2 separate regions of the Homo sapiens genome follow, and region 1 is linked to region 2. The links are contacts of gene promoters, found by promoter capture Hi-C in human tissues and cell types (Jung and others, 2019). All regions are on one chromosome and are shown on one strand. Each heading gives the region's core, a stretch centred on a gene start or on the middle of the fragment in contact. The rest is flanking DNA. Distances are from core to core; before and after follow the strand shown.

The links. The method cuts DNA at HindIII sites, captures the fragments that hold promoters and counts their contacts. A contact is called where the count stands out against the background at its distance.
Region 1: a fragment that was not itself captured here is called in contact with the fragment with the promoter of KDM5A in region 2 in 1 of the 25 tissues and cell types used here (dorsolateral prefrontal cortex).

What each region holds. Positions count from the first base shown.
Region 1 is chr12:732,125-734,845 of GRCh38, reverse strand. No RefSeq gene overlaps it. Among named protein-coding and RNA genes, the nearest start is that of LINC02455, 17 kb to the right of the region's middle. The HindIII fragment of the contact is 3,427 bases long and covers 1-2,721 here.
Region 2 is chr12:388,070-390,774 of GRCh38, reverse strand. KDM5A (lysine demethylase 5A) reads left to right here and starts at 1,455. Exons shown (of 28, transcript NM_001042603.3): 1 at 1,455-1,848. The coding sequence starts at 1,684. It overlaps LOC105369594 (a long non-coding RNA gene), which reads left to right. Exons shown (of 4, transcript XR_007063149.1): 4 at 1-742. It also overlaps a transcript of CCDC77 not described here. RefSeq lists an enhancer at 998-1,292. The HindIII fragment of the contact is 14,723 bases long and covers 1-2,705 here.

The DNA.
Region 1 (2,721 bases), core at 21-2,520, 340 kb before region 2:
AGATCAATGAAATAGAATTGAGCATTCAGAAATAATTCCTCACATTTATGACAAATTAATTTTCAAGAAGCTTGGCCGGGCGTGGTGGCTTATGCCTGTAATCCCAGCACTTTGGGAGGCCAAGGCAGACGGATCACGAGGTCAGGAGATCGAGACCATCCTGGCTAACACAGTGAAACCCCGTCTCTACTAAAAACACAAAAAAATTAGCCGGGCATGGTGGCAGGCGTCTGTAGTCCCAGCTACTCTGGAGGCTGAGGCAGGAGACTGGTGTGAACCCAGGAGGCGTAGCTTGCAGTGAGCTGAGATCGCACCACTGCACTCCAGCCTGGGCAACAGCGCGAGACTCCATCTCAAAAAAAATAAATTTCAAGAAGGGTGACAAGAAAGAATCCAATTAAATGGGAGAAAGAATAGTCTTTTCAACAAATGGTGCTGAGACAATTAGATAGCCACAGGCAAAAGAATGAAACTGAACACCTACCTCACACCATACACAAAAGTTAACTCGGAATGGTCTATAGACCTAATTGTAAGAGGTCCAACTATAAAATACTTAGAAGAAAACAGGAGTAAATCTTTGTCACTATTAGGCTGCTACTCGAGAGGCTGAGGTGGGAGGATTGCTTGAGCCCAGGAGTTCAAGGTTGATTGCGCCACTGCACTTCAACCTGGGTGACAGAGTGAGACTCTGTCTCTAAAAAAACCTATACACACACACACACACACGCACACACACACTATATATATATACACATATATACACACAAATGTTCAATTAACACATGAAAAGATGCTACTGGATTGATGATAGTCAAAACCATAATGATGTACTGATCACATCAACTAGGATGACTATAATCAAAAAGAAAGATAGGCCAGGCACAGTGGCTCATGCCTGTAATCCCAGCACTTTGGGAGGCTGAGGTGGATGGATCACCTGAGGTCAGGAGTTTGAGACCAGCCTGGTCAACATGGTGAAACCCCGTCTCTACTGAAAATACAAAAATTAGCCAAGCGTGGTGGGAGCTACTTGGGAGACTGAGGCAGGAGAATCACTTGAACTGGTAGGCGGAGGTTGCAGTGAGCCGAGATTGCGCCATTGCCCTCCAGCCTAGGCAACAGAGCAAGATTTCATCTCAAAAAAAAAAAAAAAAAAAGATAGTAATAAGTATTGGTGAGGATGTGGAGAAATTGAAATCCTTATTTACTGTTGGTGGGAATATAAGGTGATATATGTTCCACTGACTTGGAAAACAGTCTGGCACTTCCTCAAAAGCTTCAACACAAGTTGGGGGCAGTTACTTATGCCTGTAATCTCAGCACTTTGGGAGGCTGTGGCAGGAAGATCCCTTGAGCCCAGGAGTTCAAGACCATCCTACTGAGACCCCATATCTAAAAAACAAAAATTAAAAATTAGCCAGTTGTGGTGCCGCACACCTGTAGTCCCAGCTACTTGGAGGCTGGGGTGGGAAGATGGCTTGAGCCCAGGAGGTCAAAGCTTCAGTGAGCCATCATTGCACCGCTGTACTCCAGCCTGCACAATAGAACAAGACCCTGTCTCAAACAACAAAAAGGTTCAACACAAAGTTGCCATACGATTTGACAATTCTAGCTTGTTCCAGTAATTCCACTCCAAGGTACATACTCACAAAAAATAAAAACATATATCCACACAATAACTTGTACATGAATGTTCATAGTAGTATTAGTCATAATAGCCAACCCAAATGTCCATCAATTATAGATAAACAAAATGTGGCGTATCCATACAATCGAATATTTTTCAGGCATAAAAAAGAATGAAGTACTGATACATACTAAAACATGGATAAATTTTAAAACATTATGGATAATCTGTCATTTATCCCATCCAGTAGAGTCGTCATCTCAGACATTGTAGTTCTCATTTCTTTTTTTTATTTTTTTAATTTATATATATATATATTTTATTATACTTTAAGTTTTAGGGTACATGTGCACAACGTGCAGGTTTGTTGCATATGTATACGTGTGCCATGTTGGCGTGCTGCACCCATTAACTTGTCATCTACATTAGGTATATCTCCTAATGCTATCCCTACCCCCTCCCCCCGTAGTTTTCATTTCTAAAAGTTAAATTTGGTTCTTTTAATATCTTCCATGTCTCTACTTAATATATTTAATCTTTCCTCTAGCTTTATTTATTTATTTTTTTTGAGACGGAGTTTCACTCTTGTTGCCCAGGCTGGAGTGCAATGGCGTGATCTCGGCTCACTGCAACCTCTGCTTCCTGGATTCAAGCGATTCTTCTGCCTCAGCCTCCCAAGTAGCTGGGATTACAGGCATGCGCCACCATGCCTGGCTAATTTTGTATTTTTAGTAGAGACAGGGTTTCTCCATGTTGGTCAGGCTGGTCTCAAACTCCCGACCTCAGGTGATCCACCCGCCTCAGCCTCCCAAAGTGCTGGGATTACAGGCATGAGCCACCACGCCCAACCTAGCTCTTTGAACATATAGAATAGAGTTATAATAACTATTTTAATGTTCTTGACTGCTAATTCTAATATCTGCATAGGTTCCAGGTCAGTTTGATTGATTAATTACATTCCTCATTATGGGTACACTCAGTAATTTTTATTTAATATTATTCATAGTGAATGTACCCTGTTAGGGGCTGGATATTTTTATAGTCCCACAAATATTCTTGAGCTAATTCTGGGACACAGTTATTTGGAAACA
Region 2 (2,705 bases), core at 206-2,705:
AGAACCAATAAGATGTGTGTGTGTGTGTGTGTGTGTGTTTATAAAGATATTTATTTTAAGGACTTGACTCACTTGATTATAGAGCTTCCAAGTCCAAAATCTGCAGGGTGGGTTGGCAGGCTGGAGGCCAGGGAAAAGGTGATGCTACAGTTCAAGTCTGAGAGCCATCTACTGGCAAAATTCCTTCTTGCTCATGGAAGGTCAGTCTTTTGTTCTATTCAGGCCTTCAGTTGATTGGATAAGGCCTACTCACATTATGGAGGGCAATCTGCGTTATTCAAAGTCCCCTGATTTGTTACTCAGAGGTGAGAAAAATCATGGTGTACTAAAGTCACCACAAAAACTTCTGTAGATCATATGGAGAAGCAGGAGAGATGAAGCTGGAGAGCAAAGCAGCAAATCAGCAATTAAAAAAGATGTTTGGAGTTGTTGAGTTTGGAGATGAAAAGTGACAAGATGAATTCTGGATTTTAGACAAAGCAATCCAACGTGTGGATGGAGAGGGATTTGAGAGGAGAAATCAGCTGTTGTCAGTAAGAGTATTTAAATTAGGATACTGGTAACGGGGATGGAGAGACACACGATTATACATGGGAAGTGAGAGCAGAAAGAATTAGGATTATTTCTTGATTTTTTTTTTTTTTTTTTTTTTTTGCTCAGGCAACTGAATAGATGAAGTCATTAATGGAAACCAGGAACACTGAAGAAACAGTGAACAATTAAAGTACTTTGAGTTATCAAAGTGAGATGTCCTGCAGGTAGCTAGACGATACTGGCTGGTAATTCAGGAGAGCTGCTGCGTCCTGTGTAAAAGGAAAAGCAATTCATGGATGGTGGCTAAAGCCAGCTGGCAGGATTTAGGGGATGGGTTAGACCTGCACTTGTTTTGATGGAGAAGAGGCGGGTATAAAGTGGCAGAGTGAGATTACTGTAAAATATCTGCATTCAAAGGGCTAAAAAAAGAGAAATGCTGGAAAGGCTACTTGCTATAAACGCAGCAGGGTAGGTTAAAACAAATTACGAAGCACGGGCGGTGAGGCGCGGTGCTTAAGATTAAGCCCGGCGTGTTTTCGAGTGCACTGATACACAAAAGGGAAAGGGACCCTCCTCACCGGAAGCACAACCTCTGCCCTCTGGGGCATTACACATTCCTCCGCGCCGGAAGAAAGCGTCACGTCGCGTCGCGCCTCGCCCCGCCTCGTTGCGCCTCGCCCCGCCTCGCCCCGTCGGCTTCCCTCAATCCGTACCTCTAGTAAAGAAGAGCTTGTGCCCCTCCCCGACCCCTTACCAAGGGCGAGCTGCGTGGAGTCGTTGGACTGGGCAGAACTTTGGCGGGCAAGGAGACAAACAGCCACACTGTGCTGCCGGGGAAGAGAAGAAGAAGGAAAGGCCAGACACACAGGCGTCGTGCAGCTGCGGAAGGATTCCGTTTCCTGCAGGGGGCGGAGGGATTTGACAGCACGGTAACTTCCGGAAAAGTCCTGAACCTCAGTGGAAAAGCCTTGCAAGAAACAATAACAAACGGGAGGAGGAAGCGATTCTGGGGTTTCTGTGTTGAACGGTTCTTGTCCGCGAAGATGCGCTTCGGCCTCTGTCAGGGGACTTGAACGGGCTTAGTGGGCTTCAGCCAGCTTTTCTCCACCGGTTCCCCACGGGGACCCCCCCCCCCCCCCGGCCGTTGCAATGGCGGGCGTGGGGCCGGGGGGCTACGCGGCGGAGTTCGTGCCACCGCCAGAGTGCCCCGTCTTTGAGCCGAGTTGGGAGGAGTTCACAGATCCGCTCAGCTTTATCGGCCGCATCCGGCCTTTGGCGGAGAAAACCGGCATCTGCAAAATTCGGCCGCCCAAGGTACCTCAGTCTGTGAAGAGAGAGGGGGAGAAGGAAGAATGGGGGAGTCCGTACACTGGGTTTAGCTTTACTTTTCTGATCCTTGTCTCGTTTCATATGTACTCTCTTTTGAGACAACTGGAGCCTGTTTCTGGATGTTTTTGCCTCGGTTTCTTTTGTGGTCTTATGTAGACACGTCTGAAAGCGAGAAAGTGGTGTCTCTTGGGCCTCTTCCGCCTAGAACTTGGGAACTGATACTTTTCTCTCAGCCGTGGGCCTAAAGCCTTTCGTTAGCCGATATGGTGTTTAAAGTACAGTATTATGACGTGACGTATTCTTCCCTCACGTATCCTCATTATGGTTTGATAGTCGGCTATCTCTTTATTCAAGACCTGGTTGGATCAAATATTTGCAGGCCTCATCTCAGGGCTAGGGTTTCTGAAAAGGTTATCTGAGCTCTAGTCTCACCGGATGGTATTACTAGACAAGAACTCCAGACTAATTATTGCCGCAGTGAAAAAGTCTTAGCGGGGAAAGAGAAGGAGCAGCAATAATTCTAAAATTTAGAGGTTTAGGAAAAATTGGTTTATAGTGGAGGTGGAAGGAAATGTTGAAATCTCTTGACGTAGGGAACTCAAGATCAACGATTTTAGAATCACAGTTATTGCAGATAACTAGGTTTGCCTATAAGGTTAATTATAATCTCACCTTTGAGGTAAGGAAAACAGATACTATCCCTTGTGTGGAGGGGATTAATGCCCCAAGAGGTTGAGTGATTACTCAAGGTCAAAGGTGTTTTTCTTTACTCATTAGACCAGTGCTTTTTAAATGATGTTGCTGGACCACTTGCACCAGGGTCAACTGGATGCTTGTTTAAA